Regions from separate parts of the Homo sapiens genome. Here region 2 is linked to region 1. The links are contacts of gene promoters, found by promoter capture Hi-C in blood cells and fetal thymus (Javierre and others, 2016). All regions are on one chromosome and are shown on one strand. The core of a region is centred on a gene start or on the middle of the fragment in contact, and the rest is flanking DNA. Distances in the headings are between cores, read along the strand shown.

Region 1 (6,436 bases), core at 2,784-5,283:
GTTTCACCATGTTGGCCAGGCTGGTCTGGAACTCCCAACCTCAAGTGATCTGCCTCCCTTGGCCTCCCAAAGTGCTGGGATGACAGGCATGAACCACCACGTTCGGCCAAAATAAATAAATTAAAAATACCTTCATGGCAACAGCTGGACTGATGTTTGACTACACAACTCTAGGCACTATAGCCTAGACAATCTGACACGCAAAATTCACCACCACGGCTCACACCTATAATCTTAGCACTCTGGGAGGCCTAGCACTGTGAGAGGACTGCTTGAGCTCAAGAATTTGAGACCAGCTTGGGCAATGTAGTGAGACCCTGTCTCTATAAAAAATTTAAAAAATTAGCGGTAAGTGGTGGCATATGCCTGTAGTTCCAGCTAGTAAGGAGGCTAGGGCCTCACTGAGGCCCAAGCAAAGCTGCAGTGAGCTATGATTGTACCACTGGACTCCAGTATGAGCAAAAGAGGAAGACCCTGTCTCAGAAAAAAAACAAAAACAAAAACAAAAACTAACCACTACACCTGCTTAACCTTGTTTAATTAGTGCTTCTCACCAGGACACTTATGAATGTGTTGAGGGCCTATATGCCTTATCACCCCTACTTCAGCAACTCCTGTCTGGAGCCCACCAGGAATGAGCCAGGGACAGGATTCAGCCCCGTTTAAAGAGCAGGCTAAGCCAGGTGCAGTGGCCCATGCCTGTAGTCCTAGCTACTCAGGAGGCTGAGGATGGAGGATTGCTTGATCCCAGGAGGTGGAGACTAGCCTGGACAACATAGTGAGATCCCAGCTCAAAAAAACTTTTTTGTAATGGCTGGCCCAGTGGCTCACCTAGAATCCCAATGCTGTGGGAGGCCCAGGCAGGAGAATCACTTGAGACCAGGAGTTTGAGACCAGCCTGAGCAACACAGTGAGACCACCTTCTCAACAAAAAATTAAAAAATTAGCCAGGAGTGGTGGTGCATGCCTGTAGTCCCAGCTACTTGGGAGGCTGGGGCAGGAGAATCACTTGAGCTTCAATGAGGCCCAAGTAAGGCTGCAGTGAGCTATGATTGCACCACTACACTCCAGCCTGGGGGAAAGAGCAAGACCTCATCTCTATAAATAAACAAATAAACAAACAAATACATAAAGTGTGCTAGCCTGTTCCATTTTCCAGCCTCTTGCTTGTTAGAAGGTCTTCCATGGTTTCTACCACTTCTGTCCCGAGTCTCTCAACGGAGGGTTCGTGCCTCCTGCCTGAGACAATTCTTCAGGTATCTGAAGCCGGTTTTCATGTCTTCCCTCCTCCTGCTCTACCCAATCTCTCTTCCCAGCCCATTCTCTTTATCTCTTTATCCAGGTTTCTAGCTGTAGCCCTTCGAGTAGGTCGTCATACACTAGATTTCCAGAAACTTCTTCCTGAGCCAACCATCTCGTGTGCTTCATGGGTAGGACATCCTGCAGCCAAGCCTCGGCAGCATTCTTGGGCCTCTGGGTCTGTGACTTCCACAGTCTGCAAGCAACTGTCTTCGTCTTTTTTTTTTTTTTTTTTTTTGAGATGGAGCCTCGCTCTGTCGCCCGGGTTGGAATGCAATGGTGTGATCTTGGCTCACTGCAACCTCCACCTCCGGGTTCATGCGATTCTCCTGCCTCAGGCTCCTGAGTAGCTGGGATTACAGGTGCACACCACCACACCCGGCTAATGTGTTGTATTTTATGTAGAGACAGGGTTTCACTATGTTGGCCAGACTGATCTTGAACTCCTGACCTCGTGATCCGCCTGTCTCAGCCTCCCAAAGTGCTGGGATTACAGGCGTGAGCCACTGTGCTCGGCTGCAACTGTCTTCTTTAAAAGAAAAGCAGGCCGGGCGCGGTGGCTCAAGCCTATAATCCTAGCACTTTGGGAGGCCGAGGTGGGCGGATCACCTGAGGTCGGGAGTTCGAGACCAGCCTGACCAACATGGTGAAACCCCTGTCTCTACGAAAAATACAAAAATTAGCTGGGTATGGTGACACATGCCTATAATTCCAGCTACTCCCGAGGCTAAGGCATGAGAATCACTTGAGCCCAGGAGGAGGAGGTTGCAGTGAGTCAAGATTATGCCACTGCACTCCAGCCTGGATGACAGACTGAGTCTCCATCTCAAAAAAATATAGATAGATAGATAGATAGATAGAAATAAAAGAAAAGCAGTAGTTTCCCTCTACCTAGATTGTTGACTTCATGATGGCACCAACCTAATTTATATTTGTCAAGCTCCTAAAGCATCTAATGGGATGTGTCTTCCCTTCCCACCCCATGAAGAACCATGGAGAATCCTACTTGTCATCTGGGACTCTAGGGAACTTTGAACATGGGTAGGAGTGGAGAGAAGATAGAAGAGGGAAAAAGCGGCTGGGCGCGGTGGCTCACGCCTGTAATCCCAGCACTTTGGGAGGCCGAGGTGGGCAGATCACGAGGTCAGGAGATCGAGACCATTCTGGCTAACACGGTGAAACCCCGTCTCTACTAAAAATACAAAACATTAGCTGGGCGCAGTGGCGGGTGCCTGTAGTCCCAGCTACTCGGGAGGCTGAGGCAGGAGAATGGCGTGAACCCGGAAGGCGGAGCTTGCAGTGAGCTGAGATCGCGCCACTGCAGTCCCACCTGGGTGAAAGAGCGAGACTCCGTCTCAAAAAAAAAAAAAAAAAAAAAAAGAAGAGGGAAAAAGCTGCCCTTGCTTAGGCCTGGCCACCTAGGTATGGTACAAAGCCAAGAACCAATTTCAATGAAGTTACAATACAACACATTCTAACAGCAAGGGTGAAATAATTGGAAACTGGCCGAAGTGTCTAGGAAGGTCTAGCCAGCACTTAGGTGGCAAGTGGATTGATGAACAAGGCCTGGGGACAGTTCAAGGGGCAAAGGCAGAGGCAAGGTCCTGTTTGGAGGATGGCAGCCAGAGGGGCCCTATAGCCAGGGGTCCCACTAAGTGTGGCTCTGCTGGCCCCTCACTCACCTGTCACACAGGGTCACCTCGGGTCTGTGCCTCACCTGCAGACAGCCAGAATGGAGAGGGAACAGGCCTGCCAGGAGGTAATCTCCGGGGAGGGTGAAGTCAGGAGAAGACTCCGTGCTATGGCAGGCAAAGGCCCAGCAGCAGGAAATGAGAAGCTGCAGGCCGACCAGGCGAGCCGTGCAGAGCAGCATGCTGGCCAGATGCCCGCGCCTGGCATGGCCAAGGAGTGGCCTCTAAGGAGGCCAGTTGCTTAAATAGAAGGCAGCTGCCGGATGCTTCCTAACTTCAGGCCCCCAAAAGGGGTGGGACTGGAGCCCAGTGGCTGAAGCAGGACTGTTTGCCTTGACATTCCGGGCCTGCGGTCCCACTCAGGAACTGGGCAGGACGAAGGCACAGATGCAAACCAGGTGGCACCCAGTGACCCTTCCTCTGGACGGTTGTGGGTTCTGTCCACGCTCTGTGACTTCACCTGGCTTAGAAAAGGAGCTCTGGCATTTTGGGGCGAGGTGGGAGGCTGGAACACAATTTCTCCGGGTGTTGCGAGGTTTCAGAACTTTTTACCTGGGCCTCAGTTTACTAAATGAGACACAGCTTTGAGTCGACACCCCCCTGCCCCAGTCTCCAGTTTTCTGACATTAAGATTCTGAGCAAATTGTCATATACTTTCGCCTTGTTACCCAGGGTTGCTCACTTCGAAACAAATGCATGCAAACCGAAGGTATGCAAATAGACATGTTTTGTTTAAACTGCCAATCCTAAAGCTTTTTCTGCAGGAGAAAAAAAATATCCCGGTGTTTTTCCGGAGAGGTGGCCCATGGCTGGTCGCGAGGTTTCTGGCTTTCTCTCTCCGGCCGGCTGGGGTAGGGAATTTGCGTAACGTAAATGGAGTCCTCCGTGGAGCCCCTCGACCAGATCGGCTGGAACCTCCTAGTGTGCTTCCGGAGGTTGCCGGCAGAGGGCGCCGGCGGCTCGGAGGCCCCTCTTTTCGGCAGCTGGGAGGGCAGCGGGGCGGACCGACGGGATCTCGCGAGATTCTCGCGCGGTAGGCCCTGAGGACCCAGCATGGCGGACTCGGGACTGCTGCTAAAGCGGGGTTCCTGCCGTTCCACTTGGCTGCGGGTCCGCAAGGCCCGGCCCCAGCTCATCCTCAGCCGCCGGCCCCGCCGCCGGCTCGGGAGCCTGCGCTGGTGCGGTCGGCGGCGCCTACGGTGGCGGTTACTGCAAGCCCAGGCGTCCGGCGTGGACTGGAGGGAGGGAGCCCGCCAGGTGTCGCGCGCGGCGGCGGCCCGGAGACCCAACACCGCGACCCCCAGCCCGATCCCTAGCCCGACCCCGGCCTCCGAACCCGAGTCCGAACCCGAACTCGAATCCGCCTCGAGTTGCCACCGGCCTCTCCTCATCCCACCGGTGCGGCCCGTGGGCCCCGGCCGCGCGTTGCTGCTGCTGCCGGTCGAGCAGGTAGGTGGGGGGCGCCGGTAGTAGTCCCCGAGGGCAGGGAGGGCTGGAGAGGCAGCCCCGGGAGAGCTGCAGGGTAGGAGAGGACCGTGGTCCCCCGGGCCTGTTCTCTGGCTGCCAGTCGGATTCAAGTCCATCCTCTTGATGGTTGGTGGCAACTAGGCTCCCCTGAGCAGCAGGGTAACAGGTACCCTGCTAAGGGGTCCCTAGGCCTTACGAGCTAAAGGGACTTTATTTTGTTTTGTTTTCTTTCTTTCTTTTTCTTTTTGAGACAGAGTCTCACTCTGTCCCCCAGGCTGGAGTGCAGTGGCACAATCTCGGCTCACTGCAACCTCCGCATCCCGGGTTGAAGCGATTCCCCTGCCTCAGCCTCCGGAGTAGTTGGGACTACAGGCGCGTGCCACCTCGCCCGGCTATATTTTTTGTATTTTTAGTAGAAACGGGGTTTCGCCATGTTAGCCAGGATAGTCTCGATCTCCTGACCTTGTGATCCACCCGCCTCGGCCTCTCAAAGTGCTGGGATTACAGGTGTGAACCACCGCACCTGGAACTCTGAAAGGGATTTTAATAGTTAAAAAAAAAAAAGGTTGCAATTACTGAGAGCTCAGAAATTCCAGGATTTAAGGGTTCCAAAAGTGTTTTAGGCTTTGAACCCATTTAAACATCCAGCTCTCTTACGGAGTAGTTGTCCCTCTCTCTAAGTGTTTACAGACGAGGAGACTGAGGTTGGGTAACTTACACAGTAGAGGGAGAGCTAGGAGTCGAACTCAGGCAGCCTGATTCTTAACGTGGATGCCATTCCTGGAGATTCCCTGTCTAATGCAGGAGGGAAGGCAAAACCCAGGAAGTTCTGGAAGAGACTTGGCAAGCTGTGGGTCTTTAAAAGGACAGAGTGGTAGAGTCTGTCTGAACCAGGAGCACAGAGCCGAGTTCACGGTCACCATGCTTTCTCTGTAGCTGCCATGGGGTATGATCTTAGTTTAAAAATATAAAGTATGGGCCAGGCGCGGTGGCTCAGGCCTGTAGTCCCGGCACTTTGGGAAGCCGAAGCTGGCAGATCATCTGAGGTCAGGAGTTTGAGACCAGCCTGACCAACATGGTGAAACCTCATCTCTACTAAAAATACAAAAATTAGCTGGGCATGGTAGCACACGCCTGTAATCCCAGCTACTCAGGAGGCTAAGGCAGGAGACTTGCTTGAACCCGGGAGCTGGAGGTTGCAGTGAGCCAAGATCACGCCATTGCACTCCAGCCTGGGCGACAGAGTGAGACTCCGTCTCGAAAGAAAGGAAGAAAGGAAGGAGGGAGGGGAAAAGAAAGAAAGGAAAAGGAAAAGAGAGAGCTGGGCACAGTGGCTCACGCCTGTAATCCCAGCACTTTTGGAGGCTGAGGTGGGTGGATCACCTGAGGTAGCGAGTTCGAGACCAGCCTGGCCAATATGGCGAAACCCTGTCTAGTGGCTCACGCCTGTAATCCCAGCACTTTTGGAGGCCTAGGTGGGCGGATCACCTGAGGTCAGGAGTTTGAGATGTGGTGGCACACGCCTGTAATCCCAGCTACTCTGGAGGCAGAGGCAGGAGAATTGCTTTAACCTGGGAGGTGGAGGTTGTGGTAAGCTGATACTGTCCCAAAAATAAATAAATAAATAAAAATTAAATAAAATTAAAAAATTTAAAAGGCTGCAGCCATAAAAAGGGATGAGATCATGTCCTTTGCAGGGACTTGGATGGAGCTGGAAGCCGTTATCTTCAGCAAACTAATTCAGGTACAGAAAATCAAATATCGGCCGGGTGTGGTGGCTCACGCCTGTAATCCCAGCACTTTTAAGTTCCAGGGTACATACGCAGGGTGTGCAGATTTATTACGTAGTTAAATGGGTGCCTTGGTGGTTTGCTGCACAGATCAACACATCACCTATGTATTAAGCCCAGCATCCATTCTTCCTGACGCCCTTCCCCAGACCCCCACAGGCTCCAGTGTATGTTGTTACCCACCATGTA
Region 2 (6,436 bases), core at 1,920-4,419, 330 kb after region 1:
AGGATCGCTTTGATTGCTGCTGTACTCCAGTCTGGGCAACAGAGTGAGACCCTGTCTTAAAAACAGAAAACAAAATTATTTATTTGTGTATTAAAGATGAGATCTCGCTGTGTTGCCCAAGCTAGTCTCAAACTCCTGGGTTCCAGCAGACCTTCTGCTTTTGTCTCCTGAGTAGCTGGGACTATAAGTGTGCACCACCATGCCCAGCTAACTTTTTGTTTTTTGTAGAGATGGGGTCTTAGTGTTGCCCAGGCAGATTTTGAACTCCTGGGCTCAAGCAGTCCTCTCACTGCAGCCTCTCAAAATGCTGGGATTACAGGCATGATCCACCATGCCCAACCCAAAGCCTTATTTCTTTTTTTTTTCTTTTTGAGACAGAGTCTCGCTCTGTCGCCCAGGCTGGAGTGCAGTGGCGCAATCTCGGCTCACTGCAAGCTCCGCCTCCTGGGTTCACGCCATTCTCCTGCCTCAGCCTCCTGAGTAGCTGGGACTACAGGCGCCCGCCACCATGCCTGGCTAAATTTTTTGTATTTTTAGTAGAGACGGGGTTTCACTGTGTTAGCCAGGATGATCTCAATCTCCTGACCTCATGATCCACTTGCCTCAGTCTCCCAAAGTGCTGGGATTACAGGCGTGAGCCATCGCGCCTGGCCGCCTTATTTCTTGAAACTGTTTCTTGATTCTTTACTCTTGGTCCTAGAAAAACTTGGCCAAAGAATGTGAATAGATCTTGGAAAATTCACGAAGTGTTTGGGAAAAGTCTCCAAGTCTTTGGGCAAATCCAGAGATCTCTCAGGCATCCCATCAGCAATGCATGGTCCTTGGTGACTCTGGTGACCCCTAACGGTATAGGTGGGGCAAATGATCACATAGCATTTACAATTTTTGTTTCTGAAACATGTAAAACCGCCACATTAACAATCACCTTCCCTGGGAACAAATTAGTTATGACTGAATAATGTAATTTGCCATAAATGCTTGCTTCCTGTATATGTGTGTGCACTAGAACCAAAGGGTTTTCCATACCTTTTTGCCCATAGATTTTTTTTACATTGTGCTCCAGCACTTGTGTGTGTATGAAAGGAACATGTCTTTCCTGATATAATACTTACACTTACTGTTTACAAAATCCTGTTTTCTATCTTATTATTTCAATACTGTTCATAATGTACTAAATGATTTCATGGCTTAGTAACAGGCTGCAGCCTGCTATAGAGAACTCCCACTGTAGGGTATCCCCAGCAAGCTATGCCAGATGTGAGGGTACAGGCCCCGGAGTCACTGACTGGGCCAGTCCTGATTCTGACATTCACTGCTTGGCCTCCTTCTCCTCTCATGTTAAAGTGGGGGCAGCTAGACATAGTGGCACATGCCTGTAGTTCCCCCTACTCTGGAAGCTGAGGCAGGAGGATGGCTTGAGGCCAAGAGTTCAAGTCCAGCCTGGGCAATATAGTGAGACCCTGTCTTTAAAAAATAATAAAATTTTAAAAAAAACAAAGTGGGGATAGTAGCGTGCCCTCAAAGGTTTGCCATGAGAGTTGAACAGGGTAATGATTGTAAAGGGCTTAGCATGGCGCTGGGAACATAGTAAGTGCTCAATAAGAGAAGGTGTGAGAGGTCAGGACATGAGCCTGGCTCTCCGGGTGGCTGTATTGGAGCCTAAAATATATATTCAGAAAACATACAGAAAATGTATGTTGGGGAAGATGCACATCCACAGGGGACCAGTGGGCAGGTGTAGGTGAGTGGTTCCCTGAGGAGCTGGGGAATGCTTTTGGCCTTGAAGGACTGTTTGGCTGGAGATCAGTGGGAAGGATGTTCTTTGTTTTTTTTGAGAGGGAGTTTCGCTCTGTCGCCCAGGCTGGTATGCAGTGGCGATCTCAGCTCACTGCAACCTCTGCCTCCTGGGTTCAAGCAATTCTCCTGCCTCAGCCTCCCAAGTAGCTGGGATTACAGGCTCCCACCACTACGCCCAGCTAATTTTTCTATTTTTGGTAGAGACGGGGATTCGCCATGTTGGCCAAGCTTGTCTCAAGCTCCTGACCTCAGGTGATCTGCCCTCCTTGGCCTCCCAAAGTACTGCAATTAACAGACATGAGCCACCGTACCTGGCCAGGATGTTCTTAAAGGTGGAAGAAAGGGCCAGGAGTTCGAGACCAGCTTGGGCAACATTGTGAAACCCCATCTCTACAAAAAATACAAAAATTAGCTGGGTGTGGTGGCATGTGCCCTTAGTCCCAGCTACTTGGGAGGCTGAGGTGGGAGAATCACTTGAGCCCAAGCAGTTAAGGCTGCAGTGAGCCATGATCACGCCACTGCACTCCACGTGACAGAGTGACAATCTGTCTCGGGGGAAAAAAAAGAGGCAAAGTGGGCACAGCGTGGGGAGGGCAGGAGACTGGGGAAGTGGGCGAAGTGCTGCTCTTCTGGGGTTGGAAACCCAGACTCAGGGGGTGGGGTTCAGTCTCTGGAGCTCTCTGAGCGTGGAGGTAATCTGCTGGAAGGGGCATTTCGGAAGCTGAGTTTTGTGGCACTGTATCTCGTGCTGAAGCAGAGGCTGTGGGTTTAGGAGGCAGAGGCCCAGGCAGCTGTGGTGTAAGCGAATGCATTTGTGGTGGGAGGGTCCTGGGCAGGAAGGCAGCGTGCATGGGACCTCATGTTGGGGAGCTCACACCTGGAGGTGGGGGGCATTGCTGTCACCCCAAGCTGAGGGTTGAAATCCAAGAGGTTGATCTTGTGATTTACAGATCTCTCTCATGTAAGAGGAGCAACAGGAAAGCACGTGAGAAAGGCCTGCAGCACTGAGTGCTCAGGGCTAAGGTGACAGTACTGCTCCCAGAGACCCTGACGGTCTCAGCAGGGCATGGGCACAGAAATCCTCTGGGTATTAGAGACAGACGCCTACCAAAGCACAGGGCGTCATCCCACGGTCACCCTGATGAGCCTGGTGTCTCCCTCTGTTAGGTGATGCTGTGTAACCCCATCTGCGGCGTCAGCTATGCCCTGACAGTGTGGCGATTCTTCCGCGATCGAACAGAAGAAGAAGAAATCTCACTAATTCACTTTTTTGGAGAGGAGTACCTGGAGTATAAGAAGAGGGTGCCCACGGGCCTGCCTTTCATAAAGGGGGTCAAGGTGGACCTGTGACGGGCAGTGGCCCCGGTGACCTTGGGGCCTCCGACCCTGTGCAGCCTGGGACAAAACTGTTTCCGGTTGGCCGCTGCCACATGGATTTTCTTAATCGTTTTATGTCATTAGTCACTCTTCTGGAATGTCACTCAAGACCAAGCGGTCAGAAGGCCTGAGGACCCAAGGCCCCACTGGAGCAGTCTGTCCTTATGCCGAATCAAGGCGGAACATGGGTGAAAGACGAGTAAGGGGCAAATCACAGCAATATTCCACAGCGCCCTCCAGAGTTACCTGGGGAGGACCGAGGCCACACGCCACTGCCCCCGAGGCCAGAGTGTAAGTAAAGGATAACCAGGACTCGCTGGGAGAGATGGACTCTGTCCTCAGCAACACTCCACAGCAGAAAGGGGTAGCAGGTACCCCTTCTTATCAGCGGTAAAAATGCATTTACAACCTTTCATTTAACCGAAAAACACAGACCGCTTTAACCTCTTTATTTCTGTCCCCCACTGCATGAACATCTATACAATTTTAAAAATACTTCCTCATAGGATGCTTTGGCCCTTCATCTATTTAATCATAGCTACATACCTATTTTTTATAAGTAGCAGTACACATTCAAAGGGGTATTCCTAGCTCAATGCTTGGTGTTCTAGTTCAACTTTTATCCTGCAGCAAGTAAGCCTAGATAACTCTACACGATTTGGCTGAGTGGCTTTGTGTGACCGTGGCCCCAGGCCAAGGGGATCATGGCCCTGGCTGGCTTTCCCGGGGGTCTCAGCTCCTGTTGTCAGTGATAGGCGGCTCAAAGGAGCATCAGTTTCTTTTGATCCAAGAAGTGCTTACTGAATGCCTGCCCTGTGCGTGGCCTTAAACATTGAGAAGTGCTGCTCTCCGTTTATTTGGGATTTGATTCTCATTTTACCATAGCTTATATTCTCAATTTCAATGCCAGTCTCAGAACTCTTGTTTTCTGTGTTCTGTTCTCAAAATTACATTGTCCCTCATGTCATTTCAAACTGTTTTCCAAAGGGATTTGAGCATATACAACTACAAATCCAAGCAGATTGACTCTCAAAAATAATCTTAAATACTGCAAATAGTCCCAACTAAGATTCAGTCAGTATGTTTGTTTTGCAAGTTTGGGAGAGTAAGTTGGCTTTGAGTCACACATCGAAGCTTTAAGAGGTGAGACGCTGGCTTCATTCTGGACTAGACAGGAACTTGGCCTCAGCGTGAGATCCTGCCATGCAGTGTTGCGGTGGCACTGAAGAAGTGTGAATGTGAAGGCGGCGTCGGCGCGGGGCCAGAGCACCACTCTGCTGCCCCACCACGCGGCCTGTGAGGAGCCACTAAACCTTTCCGTGCCTAGACCTCCCCATCTGTGGAATGGGGTCAATACCACCTACCTCACAGGGGTGTTGTGAGGACTGAGAAGAACAATGTCAAATGTTTTTAATACTCAGATGTGGGAGCGACATCAATGAAATCTGTACTGTATGAAAGCTACACAAAAATGGGCAGACATTTGGTTAATTGTGCCAGATACCTAAAATGTATGTTCAGAAAAGCATTTTATCAACTCAGAAATATGACTTATTTCTAGATTTCATGGCTTAATGAATTTTTTCATTGTTATATATACCAAAGAGGCTTACGGGTTCATTGATTGGTTTGAAAACCAGACAGACGGCCGGGCGCGGTGGCTCACGCCTGTAATCCCAGCAATTTGGGAGGCCAAGGCGGGTGGATCATGAGGTCAGGCGTTCGAGACCAGCCTGGCCAACATGATAAAACCCCGTCTCTACTAAAAATACAAAAAAATAGCTGGGCGTGCTGGCGGGTGCCTGTAATCCCAGCTACTCAGGAGGCTGAGACAGGAGAATCCTTTGAACCCAGGAGGCGGAGGTTGCAGTGAGTTGAGATCGGGCCTTTGCACTTCAGTCTGGGCAACAGGGCGAGACTCCATCTCAAAAAACAACAACAACAACAAAAAAAACCGGACGGACTTGCCCATCGGCCCTCACGACACGCGTGCAGTGGGACTCTAGCCAAGGCGGTGGCCGAGCCATCATTACAATTTTTCTGGAGTAAAGGATCCACGGTGGGACATCAACTGGCACTTACTCTGTTTAGGAACTTGAGTTGAATCATTTCTAAACTTGTCCTTTAGACCACGCCTAGGGCAGCAAATTCCACTTCCTAGAACTGCAAACCGGGAGAGGATGTAGTTAGATTCTGGCATCCTGCCCCGGCTCTTTGAGGGAAAAGTTCTTTCCCCTGCTCTAAGTAGGGCGGGCCCAGCCTCCATTCCCATTGGGAGCCATGAAGTTGTCTTGTTGATAGGTCTAGGGCAGCTGTTGGCAGCTGCTGGCCTTGTGGATGGTAAGCTGACTGTGTTGGCATTTAATGCCATCCTCCATCTGCCAGAGGCCCAGGAAGCCCACCTTCACACCAGGCCCACCAGCTGGAAGGAGCCCAGGAGGCAGGTCTTAGGGTTTCATGGTGAAATGCTGTCTGACACCAGGGAAAACTTGACGTACTCTGCTTTGGAGAGGAATTCCAGGGGTAGGGATGGTGGGAGAACATTCCCACCCTGTTTATAATCCCAGAGCAGAAGTCAGCAATTACTTAGGGATAAAAGATGAACTCCATTTTTTTTATTTTCTTAAGACAGTCTTGCTCTGTGGCCCAGGCTGGAGGCTGGAGTGCAGTGGCACCATTTCGGCTCACCGCAACCTCTGCCTCCCGGGTTCAAGCGATTCTCCTGCCTCAGCCTCCTGAGTAGCTGGGATTACAGGCTTGGGCCACCATGCCCAGCTAATTTTTTTGTATTTTTAGTAGAGACGGGGTTTCACCATGATGGCCAGGCTGGTCTCGAACTCCTGACCTCAAGTGATCCACGCGCCTCGGCCTCCCAAAGTGCTGGGATTACAGGCGTGAGCCACCACGCCCAGCCAAGATGAACTCCTTAAGGACAGGATTTGGTAAGTGATTGACTTCTTTTTAGTTCCATGATCTTGAGATTATTTTTAGCTTTATAAATTTAGCAGTGGCAGGGCCCGTGGAGAATCAGGTTAATGAGGTAAAGGCTTTCTGGGTATTTGCTGCCAAGGCCACATCACCAATTTTCTCGATTTAAAAAACTGTCAAGAGATTTATTTTTCCATTGCAGGTTTTAAAGTGGAGATTCTGAAGTGGAAAATAGGTACTGTCAGAACAAAGCTACCTGGAAACAGCATAGAGTGAAGCCTTTCGTGAGGGCTTGCAGGCCGCTGCTGAGTGGCAGTTTACAGAAGAGGTCGCG

The links. The method cuts DNA at HindIII sites, captures the fragments that hold promoters and counts their contacts. A CHiCAGO score of 5 or more calls a contact.
Region 2: a contact is called between a fragment that was not itself captured here and the fragment with the promoter of NOL9 in region 1, in 1 of 17 cell types (activated CD4 T cells). The highest score is 5.1, in activated CD4 T cells.

The regions. Positions count from the first base shown.
Region 1 is chr1:6,552,110-6,558,545 of GRCh38, reverse strand. NOL9 (nucleolar protein 9) reads left to right here and starts at 4,033. Exons shown (of 12, transcript NM_024654.5): 1 at 4,033-4,439. The coding sequence starts at 4,044. It overlaps TAS1R1 (taste 1 receptor member 1), which reads right to left and starts at 3,239. Exons shown (of 6, transcript NM_138697.4): 1 at 2,982-3,239. The coding sequence starts at 3,172. RefSeq lists a silencer at 4,068-4,327 and an enhancer at 5,722-6,222. The HindIII fragment of the contact is 17,405 bases long and covers 3,745-6,436 here.
Region 2 is chr1:6,221,791-6,228,226 of GRCh38, reverse strand. ICMT (isoprenylcysteine carboxyl methyltransferase) reads left to right here. Exons shown (of 5, transcript NM_012405.4): 5 at 2,965-6,436. The coding sequence ends at 3,147. Among named protein-coding and RNA genes, the nearest start is that of ICMT, 11 kb to the left of the region's middle. The HindIII fragment of the contact is 2,283 bases long and covers 2,028-4,310 here.